2 separate regions of the Homo sapiens genome follow, and region 1 is linked to region 2. Evidence: promoter capture Hi-C in human tissues and cell types (Jung and others, 2019). All regions are on one chromosome and are shown on one strand. The core of a region is centred on a gene start or on the middle of the fragment in contact, and the rest is flanking DNA. Distances in the headings are between cores, read along the strand shown. Region 1 overlaps MIDEAS (mitotic deacetylase associated SANT domain protein). Region 2 holds the start of YLPM1 (YLP motif containing 1).

Region 1 (6,878 bases), core at 2,222-4,721, 1.0 Mb before region 2:
AGGAAGCAAAAAAATTTGCCACCAGCAGAGGGAGGGGAGTCTCAGTGTGGCTGCCTGGGGCCTCCTAGAAGGGCTGCAAACTGGGCACAGACAGACGCCCATTTGACTCCAGAGCCATCACATCAGCCTCACGCCCTTCCTCAGGCCCTGGTCAAGATGCAAGACTTTTGCCAAAGGCTCACACATTCTTTGCATTTCTCCAGTCTCTGAGCAGCTGCTGCAGGGCCTTTTCTCCTATGTTGATTTATTCTTTATTGTTCCTGAAATACACCCAGAGGCCTTTGGCACAGCATGCGGGCACAGCAGAGCATCCAGCCCAAGCCCCAAGTACACACCAACCAGACTCTCTGGGACCTGGGCCAAGCCAGCTGGAATGATGGGCCCCAGGTCAGACCCAGCAGCCAAGAAGGGAGACCAAAGATTCCACCTAGCCCCAGCCTTTGATTCCCCAGAGCTGTTCTCAGTACCTCAGAGGCTGGGATACCTTTAAGGGGGAGGACACACTTGGGAGGTCCCCAGGAAGCCCACACTAAGCTGAAACCAAGCCTTTCCCCTCTTCCTGTGCATGTGCCTGGCCGAGCAGTCCCCAGGCCCACAGCTGAGTCCTCCACAGAAGGGCCTCAGGGCTCAAGGCTGGGCTCCTGGCTGCCCTGTGAAGCATCTGGAGAGGGAGGCAGCAGGGAGGTCTTCCCCACCCTTCCCAGCCCAAGATATCTCCCCTACCAGCCAGTCTAATGGTGCCTGAATTCCTACTATCAGCACTTCATACCAAGGATCAAAGCATTGTTCCTTGTGCACATGAAAATAGCCGGAGGAAGTGTGGGAGCTGCAGGGTAAAAGTAGTCAGGGGCAATGTGTGCTGGCTTCTCCAATCACCAGCCTCTGTGAGCCTGGGGTTCCCTATTGGTGAATGGGCACAACAGTTTCATCTCAGTTATTGTGGGATTCAATGAGGTAATACATAGATGAAGCGCCGCCTGGCACAGGGTACGCACTCAATAAATGTGTTTCCTGTCTCCCTTGCTGGGTAGGGGTGGCTCAGACATCGTTATCAGTCTTTAACACCTTGGAGGAAATGAATAGTCCAACTCTTCCAGTTCCACAGCTGGCTGAGAGCAAGGCTGGCCAGGCAAGGGCGGGACAGGGAGACTCAAAGTCCTAGCAACAGTGTGGGGCTCTGCAGGCACGCAGAGCTTCCGGCCTACAGACCCAGGAGAGAGAGGTCTGGCCAGAAAGTCCAGAGGGCACCCAGCACAGGCCTCCTTTAAACTCAGCTATGCCAGCAGGGCCTGCCTACAGGGATACAGGGGGATGAGGGTATTTCCCAGATAATACCGGCAGAGCTTCCAGGCCCAAAGGATGAGCCGCCACCTCCTGGATTCACTCTAAGAAGAGCAATAAAGGGGAAGGTGCGATGGCCAGAGGGAGGCTGAGGAAGGGCTGCAGGAAGTAGAAGGGACTCCAGTGTGGCAGAGACACAGGGCCTACAGAAAGCAAGCAAGCCTGCCCAGAGGCCACCACAGTAAATGTCCCACAAGTGGAAGTGCCCGCCTGGTTATTTTTGGCGCCTCTTCTGCCCAAAGCCAGTAAGGAAAGGCAGCTGCTAGCAACACAGAAGGGCTGTTTACACTCAAGTGTGCAAGCACTGCAACAGGGACAGAAAGCACAACTAGCAGCCACCATGCAGATGGGCCTCTGCCCCGTTTTTCCCCTCCCAACTGTCCCCCGTTGTGTGCTGCACAGCTGACACAGTGTGGGTACTTCTGCTTTCACTCAGATCCAGCCTCCCAACCACAGGACTCACTCACGCACATGCAAACAAATAAATAACTATGGAGCCAGCTGAGGACTGAGCCACACCCAGGAGCCAAGACAGTATTCCTTTGGATTCTTCCTGCGCTCAAGCTGCCCTCCCAGCTTCCAAACTGGGAGAAGCAGCCACCAGGCGCAGGACACAGGAGCAGTCCCTTTCCACCCTCCCAAAGTGAAAGTGGAGACAGTCTTTACAACCTCAAGCATCTCACCACCTCTCGGCTTCCCCATTTGAAAATGAAGGATTCGGACTAGATGTCCCAAATGGTTTCCCAGCTCTGGAATTAGGACTATGACCCAAGACCAGCTGGGGCCTCAGACAGAGGAAGGCCAGGAGGGGAGGAGGATCTGTGCCAGGAACTGCCAGCTCACATGCCGTCTCGGGGTTGCAAGTTATCACTTAAGCCCATTTCTGAGCTATGGGGGCCTTACCTACTAAAGAAATGGCAAGTTCTGGCAACGGTAAGTTGGATAGGGTCCTCTGTCTGCCCAACTACTGGGAAAAGCAGGGAATCAAAATCTCTCACCATTTTCCTTCTTGTCTGGATTCCAATTCCCCAGAGAAGCTGAGCGGCTTTAGAGAGAAGCCCCTTCTGGCCAGCTACAAGCCTACTGTAGCTCACTCTCTCCATCCAAGCTTTAACTGGGATAAACCTTGCCCTGTGCTTTCCCCACTCTCCTTCCTTCCCAGGACTCCTGAAGGAAGAAGCACTGCCTGGAAAAAATGCTCTCACCACGAAAGCTCCCTGCGGCTGGGAGAAAGGCAGAGGGAACAGGGAGCACCTTCCCTGGCTGGCCACAGCACGAGGCTGTGTTCCAGGAAGAGCAACAGCAAGGGCGGCTGCCAGGGAAGCCTCAGCCCCAAGCCCCGGCTCTTCCCCACCAGCTCTTCCCCACCAGCCGAGAATGACAGCCAGCAACTGCAGCCCTCAGGGAGACCCCCAGCCCCACCCCAGCACAACTCCGGCTCTCCTCTGACAGTGGCAACTTTCTTCTTATATAATTCTTGGTGTTTCCTTCACCGTTGCACATAATTTTAATGGGTAAAAGAGCCAAAGCAGTCTTTAAGGAAAAACTCCCACCCTTGGCTCTACCCAAACCTCCTGCGAGGTCACACTGCGAGGCTTCAGGTGAAGCAAACAGGGGACTTTTTTTCCTTGGCTGAGAAAGCAGCCTTCCTCCTGCCCACCCACGTGAGCAGCTCAGCCTGGGGCCTGGGCGGGTAGGTTCCTGAGAGCACAATCTGATCTCTGGGAAGCTGGGCCCTCAACCCTCGGCTGCAGGGCCACAGTCCCTCTCAAAGGCACACAGACACTGGGTCTGGGCCACATGTCTAGGGTGGAGTGGATCAAGCTGTTGTTCCCAGGGCACAATAAACTTCATTTATACAAGCTTCAGTGGCCTGGTAGATTGCTTTCCTACTATAAACAGGACACCCTTCATTTTCTCTTCCTTGATAGGAGTCAAAGGCAAACACACTGGATCCAGTGGGAACTGGTGAAATGAGAGTTGCCATCTGTTGAATACCTAGTATGTGTCATTCACTCTGCATGCATAATCCTGTCTAATCTTCACAGCCTATGAAGTACTAGTATCATCCACATTTTACAGGTGAGGCAACTGAGGCCCAAGAAGTTAAGCAATGCCCAAAGCCACACAGCAAGAGGAGATGCTGGGGTATGAACTCAGGTCTGCCCAGGCCTCATTCCCACGCACCCATCAGACTTCCTTCAGTCACTGCCCAAGTGACTGTCCACACACCATCCAGGAACGGCGTTCTGAGTGTGGAAGCAGAAGTCGGTGTGGATGAATTTTGCTGGAGGCCTCCAGAATCTGAACTGATGCTCCAACTATTATTGCTCCCAAGTGTGTGACTGCGAGAGCCCATGTCAGTGTGTGTGTGTGTGTGTGTGTGTGTGTGCGCGCGCGCGTGCGCGCTGAGGTGGAGGGAGGGTGATCTGGATTCCAAATTGCAGTTTCCAACATTAAAGTTATGCTGTAATGCTTCTGATTCATAAAATGAGCTCATAGTCTCACAGTATCCTGAATGTTGCTTCGAATGCAAATGCAGGTCCCTTAGTAAGAATTGGGGATTTCAGCCTACTCCACCCTAGCCCCGGCCCAGCATGCAATTTTTCAGTCCCAGAGTCAAGAGTTCTCATGTGCAGAAAGAAGCAATTCCTCCAACAGAATGCGGCCACTGGCTCTGCTTCCTGCCACCTGCAGTGAGTCAGGGAAGAATGGAGCCCCAGGCTGCTTCTGTACTGATGCATGCACGCCTGCACACACACAGGAAGGGTGCCAATCTGGGCTGACCAAAGGAAGTGCCCAGGCTAGCAGATCCCTAGGGAGATGGCTCCACAACTCTTTCACCCTGAGGTCCCCTTAGGGTCAGGATGACCGACACATGCACTCCACAAGGCCAGCTACAGGGCAGTGCCAGGAAACTGGGTTCACCAGCCCCAGAATCACCCACGGTGGACTGACATTTTTGAAACCAGTGATGCAATCTGAGGAGGTTCCAGGAGCAGGGACTCACTGGGCCCAACACATGACAAGTACACATTTTTTTTGATGGAGATCTTTCACTAATTTGTTCAACTAACATGCACTAAGACCAGGTGAGGTAGTTCAAGACTGTAATCCCAGCACTTTGGGAGGCCAAAGTGGGTGGATTTCTTGAGCCCAAGAGTTCAAGACCAGCCTGGGCAACATGGCAAAACCCCATATCTACAAAAATAGAAAAATTAGCCAGGTGTGGTGATGTGTACCCGTAGTCCCAGCTACTTGGGAGGCTGAGGTGGGAAGATTGCTTGAGCCCAGGAGGCTGAGATTGCAGCGACCTGAGATCGCACTACTGCACTCCAGCCTGGGCGACAGAGAAAGACCCTATCTCTAACAACCAAAAAAAAAAAAAAACACTAAACACTTACTAGATGCCAAGCAGCATTGTGGGACCCATTCAAGCAGAGGCTACCAAATACTGAAATGTGCTTTAAGCATTTTACGTATACTAACTCACAGAATCCTCACAGCAACTCTATGAAGGAGATACTGTATAGGAACTCTAACTCAGAGTCTTTGTTTTTGACCACCACACTGCAGTATGTACACAAATAACTACATAAGGTGGAAATGAGTGTTCAGAAGATGGCTACAGCCTTCAGAAGTGGCATTTGAAACAGGATTAGAAGGATAAGCTGGAAACCCCCAGCCACTTTGTGGCTGTCCCCACCCCAGCATGAGCAAAGTTTTCTTCTGGGAGACCCAAATGCAAGAGAGGGGCTCTCAACCTGAAGATTCCTGGACTGGGCCCATTCCCCTTCCCCTCTTCTGTCAGAGGTCTTGGCACCCCTGGGCAGCCTTTCTCTGGGGACTCTAGACACAGGAGGCCCTCAGCTGAATCCACAACTGCATGTTGTCTTTTCTTGTGTTCCACTTATTGAAAGCAGCAGCACACAGGGTCAAACACTGGGGCTATTTTAAAATCCCACATGTAAAAATTAAATTCTCATCCCCATGGGCACTCCAGGGCGCTCTTTCCTGGGGCGGGGTGAGGAGCTGACAGAGTCACGGGAGTGGGGGTTCTGCTGGCACTTGGAGAGGCCACACTGGCAGTGGCTAGGCTGTTCCAGAGCAAGCTGGCAAGCTGTATGACCTGGGGGCATCCTCCAGGTTCTTCACCCCCTTGTCCCCCCGGGAGCTACACGGACCAGAGTAACCAGCCAGAGGCCAATCCAATTAGAGTGGAGACTGGACCAGGGCCATGCAACGAGATGGTTTATCACAGTAATTGAATGTTTACGCTCCTATTATTCACTGTCCAGAGCAGTTGGAAAAGGAAGACCTACGAATTCTCAACCCGGGAAGGCTTCTCCTTTTCCCTGGGTTCTGAAGCCACTTAACACCCAAGGAAAGGGTGCATTTCTCTGATCCAAAAGGGGCGTGTGCCACACCTTTGGTGGGAGGCTCTAGAGCAAGACAGGTGGTTTCTCCCCTCAGCTGAGGCCCCCTAGGGAGGACTGGCTTCTCGGTCCACCTTCACTAGGCCTTCAGTCTCAACCCTGAAGCTACAGGAACAAGAAGATCCCAGATCACCTGGCCAGGCTCCCCCTGCTGGAGCAAGCCAGACATCCCCTCCCTCCCCCAGCCGCAGCTGCCAACAGGGATCCCCTGCATACGCGGGCCACCGGGGCCTCCGTGGCCAGCCTCTCTTCCCCCATCCCACCGCCCCCCGCGCGAGGCTCCACAGGCTGGCACACAGGTCCCACGTGGGATGGTGGAAACAGGAAGCAGCCACCGTAGTTGTGACCAACAAAGTTTTAAATGGGGCATATAACTTCCCCTTTCATCTTCTCACCAGCTCTCGCTGGAGGCTGGGCTGGGACGGACACCCGGCCTCCACTTTCTGTGGCAGGTACCTCCTCCATGTCGGCCCGCCTTGGGGCTGAAGCCTGAAGGCCCCAGGGCACACGAAGTTCCCCTTCCTCCCCTAGACCTTTACCCAGAGGCCTTGGGGGCAACCTGACACACATGGTCCTGCATGTGCGACTTGGGAGGCGACGTGACCAGCTCCACCAAGCCGGCCATATGCAGGGCCCGGCCGAATCCCGGGTTTCGGCGCTGCCGCCAGGCACCAGGGAACACAGCTCCCCGCGAGGCACCGCGCGGGCTGGGAGGGCTGCGGCGGCGCGGGCGTGCGGGGGCGCGCGGGAGGATGACAGGTCTGAGGTGCGCCCGCCCGCGCGAAGCGCTCCAGCCTAGGCCTCTGCTGACTGCATTTGCCCCAGTTCCCCAACGCCCCTGCACCTCTGTCCCCCAAACTCCTGGCGTGGACGCCGCGTCCAGGCCCACTTTCCCGTGCACGCTGGCAGGGGAAGGGGCTCCCGCGCCAAGTTCCCTCAGCTGGCTAGCCCCTCGCCGCGCCTTCCGGGCCTGGGCTCCGTCACGTCAGCCGGTCCCCACGGACACCACGTTTCTCTCCAGCGGAGGAGGAGCAGCCGGATTCCCGAGCCGCCGCGGGCCGCCGGGTGGGGAGGGCTTTCCTGGCGGGGCCGCGCCCGGGT
Region 2 (6,707 bases), core at 668-3,167:
AAAAGAAAATGTCAGCCCAAAATATTAAAAACACAACTAACTAGGGTTTCTGGGTTGGGTTCCTGATCTGGGTGCCGATTTCACAAGTGTGATTGGCTTGTGAAAATTTACTATGCTGTCTACTTAAGACATGTGTTAAATAAAATTTATAGCAAGTTGGGCATTAGGCCCAACAGAACAAACCAAAATGGAGTTTATTGATGTTGCCATGCCAAAATTAAAATCTTTATCTGACCATTCAATAAACCAGGAGAGAGAGAAATAATAGCCAAGTCTGCAAACAGTCCATTTTTAGCCAGCATGATAAAGAAGTCCTCTCTGCTTTAACCTTATAAGAAAAGAAACTTTGAAACAAACAATCCACTTTTAGTTTTCTGTTTCTCTCTTTTTTTTCTTTTTTGAGATGGAGTCTCGCTCTGTCACCCAGGCTGGAGTGCAGTGGCACGATCTCAGCTCACTCCAACCTCTGCCTCCTGGGTTCAAGTGATTCTCCTGCCTCAGCCTCCTGAGTAGCTGAGATTACAGGTGAGCACCACCACGCCTGGATACTTTTTGTATTTTTAGTAGGCATGGGGTTTCACCATGTTGACCAGGCTGGTCTTGATCTCCTGACCTGGTGATCTGCCTGCCTCAGCCTCCCAAAAGTGTTGGGATTACAGGAGTGAGCCCCCGCGCCCTGCCTCTGCGTTTCTTTTCTGTCTATGAAATTATCCCGATTGTTCTGCTCATTGGAACACTGTTTCTGCTTTATAGAATGAGACGTTGCCCAATTCTAGAATAGCAGGTAAAAGTTAATTAAGATCTTTAAACTAAATTTGTTGTAATTTTGTCTTTTGACATGTAATTTTCTGTATATTCGTTATACTTCAATAAAAAGTTAAAAGAAACATAACTAAATTTCTATTTGAAAACAGAAGCTCTTCCTTTTGAAGGATGCCTTGCTGCTCCACTTTCCATTCACATTCACCTCCTGAGAGAGGTGAAGATCTGGGTTGCTAAGATGGAAGAAAGGTCAATTATTTGCATGTTACTCAAGTGATGCACTGACACAATATTCTCACAGTTCTCCCTCCCCCCGCCCCCCCCCACACACCCAAAAGAATTCAGTGTATTAGCTTTGCTTTTTAGTGATTCACTCAAGCTAAAGTAAGAGTTTATGTCTGGTATTACGTTGAGAGCTTTTGGAAGATTATCTTCCAGGTTGTCTTTAGACCATCTTTGTATCTGGTTTTTGCTCTCTTTGCTTTTGCTCTGAGATTCTGCAACACCGATTTATATGTGTTGAGACAGTCTAAAAAATTCCATTTCTCCCCTTCTACAATTCCTGCAGATGTTACTCACTATATGTCTGCAGGAATTGGTGTAATCTTACACTCTGCCTTGAAAACACCTTTCCATTCTTCACAGCTTTGTTCCCAGTTGAATTTCTGGGGAGAATTGAGTTAGGTCTATTCATTTAATTTGGGAGAAACTGACATCTTTACAATTTTTCCTCTTTTCACCCAGGATCATGGTAAGCCTCTCCATTATTTGAAGTCTAATTTCATCCTACTTGGATATGCTTCTTTATGACTCTGTAGCTTTCTACATATAAGTCCTACATCTTTCTTGTTAGAGTTTTTCCTAGTTGCTTTATGTTTTTTTGTTGTTGTTGCGATTGTTGCTATTGTGAATGGAACCTTTTTTTTTTTTCATTCAAAAATGAACCCGTGGAGCGATAGGATCTCTACCACCTCTTTCGGCTGTGAGACTCTATGGTTTTTCAGTTCTATGAGAACATTCTACTGGAGCCTACATTATCTGAACCCAAAGGAAGATGGCAACCACGAGTCGCCAAGTAAAGGACCGCTCTATCTCGCCTTTGTTCTCCTCTCGGTGGTTACTGCGCAGACGTAGTCGCCCAAGTCGCGTCCCCGCCTTCCCGGTCGCGGGCCCAGCTCGGGAGCGCCGGCGCACTGGCGCGCTCCGTTTACACGCTCCGGGGCCTGTAGGCGCCGCGAGTTCCGGCTGTCGCCGTCGCCGCCGCGGCTCCTGGAGGTCGGTTGCGACGAGTAACGGCGCCAGGACGAGCCCTGCGCCTTCTTTTTCGATATGTACCCGAATTGGGGCCGGTATGGCGGGAGCAGCCACTATCCGCCGCCACCGGTCCCACCGCCGCCGCCAGTGGCGCTTCCTGAGGCCTCGCCGGGGCCCGGGTACTCGAGCTCGACGACTCCCGCGGCCCCCTCCTCCTCGGGCTTCATGAGCTTCCGCGAACAGCACTTGGCGCAGCTCCAGCAGCTGCAGCAGATGCACCAGAAGCAAATGCAGTGCGTGCTTCAGCCCCACCACCTTCCTCCGCCCCCTCTGCCGCCCCCGCCAGTGATGCCGGGGGGCGGCTACGGAGACTGGCAGCCGCCACCGCCACCGATGCCCCCGCCACCCGGGCCGGCCCTCAGCTATCAGAAGCAGCAGCAGTACAAACACCAGATGCTCCACCACCAACGAGACGGGCCTCCTGGTTTGGTTCCAATGGAGCTGGAATCCCCCCCTGAATCTCCCCCTGTGCCGCCTGGGTCCTATATGCCCCCATCTCAGTCTTACATGCCCCCACCTCAGCCGCCACCCTCTTACTACCCCCCGACCTCATCTCAGCCCTACCTGCCTCCTGCTCAGCCGTCCCCTTCGCAGTCCCCACCTTCCCAATCCTACCTGGCGCCCACCCCTTCTTACTCATCCTCCTCCTCTTCCTCGCAATCCTATTTGAGCCATTCCCAGTCCTACTTGCCCTCTTCTCAGGCATCTCCTTCCCGCCCCTCCCAGGGCCATTCTAAATCCCAACTACTAGCTCCACCACCACCGTCCGCCCCCCCTGGAAATAAGACAACTGTCCAGCAAGAGCCTTTGGAGAGTGGGGCCAAAAACAAGAGTACTGAACAGCAGCAAGCCGCCCCTGAGCCAGATCCCTCTACGATGACTCCACAGGTAAGAAAGCATCTGCCTGAACCTCATCTTTCACCTAGAGGGCCCTGAATGAGCAGGCCTCAGGGCTTTAACCAGTGGTTAGTCTAATTCCAACACACAATGACTAGCTAACACTCCAAAGGATTCCGTAAGAGTCAGAGGGCTGACAGCTCAGCTTTTTAATTAGCTAGATGTGAATTACCAAAAAAACAGCGTTTGTAGATGTGTATGGATTACATACAGTGGTGGGGTGGCTCAAAAGTTACCTCTCAGATACATTCCTTGGTTTCTTTGACCATCCTCTTAGATTTTGTTGCTGTTGCAAATAGATTTTGTTGCAGAGGGTCTTGTTTTAAAATTGTATTTTAAACGAAAGTTTCCATTTGAGAGAAAGCATGAAAAAGAGGCCTCGCCAAGGGCTGACACTTGAATGTTTGTAAACTTTATGATTAGTTAGCTTCTTTTAAAAATATTACTTAGGGGCCAGGGATAGTTGTCAGCTTCCTGAATTAAGAGGTTTCAGAAAAAGGATGGAAATCTTGTCTTACCAGGAGCATCCTAATTATGCTTATAGGTACATATACAATACATAGATGAGTCCCGAGACCCTTTTGGGGATCGATTGGTCCATTTTAGGAATTGACCCAGACATCCTTTTCTCATATTATTTAAAGATTGTTTTAAGATAATGAGCAATTTTCTGCGTTTCATTGTCATTACCATTCACTCCAAAGAAACAGCCTTGCAATTTGGCCAACGTAAAAAAAGTTTGGTGATATCTTTTCATGAGAGAGTCAGCCATTCTTATCCCGCAGAACAGACAAATTGACAGGGTAACAGTAATAAACGAGTTCCCCCTTGAGAGAGGGAAGGTCAAACTAAAGCAGAATAAATCAATTGTTATGATTTCCTAAAGTAGACACTTTTTCAGCGATTACTAATTTACCTTAGATTCACTAAGGAAAAAAGAGAATCTTGTAATATAAACGCTCAGATTTACCTATAAAAGATTTCCAAAAGATAGGGATGCAGTATTATAATTTTACGGTGGTTTGGCATTAGAAATTAAGAACAGAAGCAAGTTGTTTTAAGAAATGATGCTTGGCACATCTTCTGGAGAAAACACTTGGGATGCTGAAATAAAGTAGTAGAATAATGATTCTGTTGGCTTACATCAAATTTGTACCATCTCACCAGTTTATTTTCCCCAGATTGCTCTATTATAGAGACAGACTTTCTGTCCTCTTTCCCACCCCACTCTGAAGTCTTTAGTGCTTTTGTTGTCAAACATTCTCAGTTAGTCTGAGCCAAAATAGGACATTTATATTCTCACTCTACTAGACTGTTTTTCTGACCTTACAGAGAGACAAAATAATTGTATTTTTGGCTTTTTTTGGGAGGAGTGTGTGTGTCAGATCAGGCCTTAATATGTATAGTTACCATGAACAGTGCTTTTACTTTTCTGCCTTTGTACCCTTTTCTGTAATGAACTCAGTGTCTTGAATATTCAGTGCCTGCAATTCTTTGGTGAGAGGCAGAGTGGTGGAAAATGAGACTTGTGGTGCACATAGACCAGATCAAGAAGAGCCTTGAAGCCTGTGGCTTTCTTTCTTCTTTTTAGAATTCATCCTAACCTCCTCAACCCTCTGTTTCCCCTTAGAGTTGTATTGCTTTCAAGGCATATCTCAAATATCAAGGTTTCCATGAAGCCCTGCTTGTGCTCACCCATCTGGTTTGGTTCTGTTCTTCAGATTGTAAGTCCCTTGCAGACAGGAATTATCTTACTTATCTTCTTATTACCGTAGCACCTAGGACAGTGCCTTGCAAATTGTAGGCTCTCCACAGATTTGTTGAATAAAATACGAGAGTTGTCATGTTCTAGACTTAGGATATGTTGGTTTATTAGATGATAAATATTTCTTCATGCCAGTACCAGTCTCTGGCAATCCTTCTACATATTTATTATTCTTTGATTCATATTTTGTTTTTGGAATGTGTCATTCAAAATTTCTTATCGTGAAATATTTTTAAAATACACAAAATAGAGAAAAAAGTATGATTCCCCATACATACCCATCATTGAGATTCAACAGCTATCAAGATTTTGCCATGTTTACTTCACCTAGGCCTTTTTTATTATTGTTGCATATATATATATTGAGACAGGGTCTTGCTCTGTCAGTCACCCAGGGTGGAGTGTAGTGGCATAGTCTCAGTTCACTGCAACCTCTGCCTCCCAGGCTCAAGCCATCCCAAGTAGCTGGGACTACAGGTGCATGCCACCATGCCTGGCTATTTTTTTTTTTTTTTTTTTTTGGTAGAGACGGGGTTTTGCTATGTTGCCCAGGCTGGTCTTGAACTCCTGAGCTCAAACAGTACACTGCCTTGACCTCTCAAAGTGCTGGGATTATGGGCATGAACCACCACACCTGGCCTCTGCTGAAATATTTTAAAGCAAATCTTAGATCTTATGTCATTTCATCCCTACATTCTTAGTCAAGTACCTCTATAAAACAAAACAAAACAAAACCAAGACCTTTTCTTTTTTTTTTTTTTTTTTGAGATGGAGTCTCACACTGTTGCCCAGGCTGGAGTGCAGTGGCGCGATCTTGGCTCATTGCAACCTCTGCCTCCCGGGTTCAAGCGATTCTCCTGCCTCAGCCTCCTGAGTAGCTGGGATTACAAGTGCATGCCACCACGCCTGGCTAATTTTTGTATTTTTAGTAGAGACGGGGTTTCACCATGTTGGTCAGGCTGGTCTTGAACTCCTGACCTCATGATCCAGCTGCCTTGGCCTCCCAAAGTGCTGGGATTACAGGCGTGAGCCACCGTGCCCGGCCAAGACCCTTTCTTAGATAAACACATTGTTAACACCTAACAAAGTTAACAGTTTCTTGGTATCATCTAATACCTGATCCGTTCAGATTTCCTTTATTGTTTCATCATACTAATGAACTAAAAATAATTCTTTGATACCATCCATGTTAAAATACCCCAAATTGACTCAACAGTGTTGTTGTTTTCTGTCCTCACAGTCTGTTCCCAAACAATGTTTTTTTGGTGTGTTCAAGTCAGAGTCCAAACAGAATACTGAAAAGATTCTTAGTATAGATCAGGGTTTCTCAGCTTCGGCACTATGGACATTTTGGGCAGGATGATTCTTTGTTGTGGAGGGGCTTGTCCTATGCATTGTAGGATGTTTAACAGCGTCCCTGACCTCTACCCATTAGATGCCAGTGGCAGCCCCCAGTCCGACAACCAAAAATGTTTCCACACATTGCCAAGTATCCCCTGGAGACAAAATTACCCTCTGTTGAGAACCCTTGACCTAGGTCAGTCCCTCCTATTTTCTTTTTCTACCTCATGTCTTTGAACTTGATGAAAAATCTGTTGTCAGTTTTCCTGTAGAATGTCTGACATTCTGCATTGTCTGCTTTTTCATGGTGTCACATTTGACTTGTTCCTATGTCTTCCACATTTTTTTTTTTTTTGAATTAGAAGTTAACTCTGGAACCTTCATTTAAGTTCAGCTTTCTTTTGGCAAGTGTTGCATTCCTCATGGGACACCCGATGCCTGGTTGTCCCACTGTTAGTAATGCCATTGGTCCCTCTACTGTAAAGCTTTCTATCAATCTTGCATCTAATGTTTCAGTCTACTGGTTCATCAATTGAAGAAAGACCTTGCCTAAGTAAATTATTTCATTAGACAGAGGTTGCAACCTGGTGATTTTTTTTTTCTGCCATTTCTTCCACAGTTACTATAT

What was found. The method cuts DNA at HindIII sites, captures the fragments that hold promoters and counts their contacts. A contact is called where the count stands out against the background at its distance.
Region 1: a fragment that was not itself captured here is called in contact with the fragment with the promoter of YLPM1 in region 2 in 1 of the 25 tissues and cell types used here (hippocampus).

Annotation. Positions count from the first base shown.
Region 1 is chr14:73,752,564-73,759,441 of GRCh38, forward strand. All of the region lies in intron 1 of MIDEAS (mitotic deacetylase associated SANT domain protein), which reads right to left. It overlaps MIR4505 (microRNA 4505), which reads left to right and starts at 6,184; the gene lies at 6,184-6,256. RefSeq lists enhancers at 1,804-2,053, 2,354-2,423, 2,454-2,533, 3,937-4,016, 5,708-5,757 and silencers at 3,803-4,097, 6,408-6,517, 6,878. The HindIII fragment of the contact is 7,118 bases long and covers 1-6,878 here.
Region 2 is chr14:74,761,399-74,768,105 of GRCh38, forward strand. YLPM1 (YLP motif containing 1) reads left to right here and starts at 1,918. Exons shown (of 21, transcript NM_019589.3): 1 at 1,918-2,964. The coding sequence starts at 2,092. RefSeq lists an enhancer at 1,626-1,965. The HindIII fragment of the contact is 19,465 bases long and covers 1-6,707 here.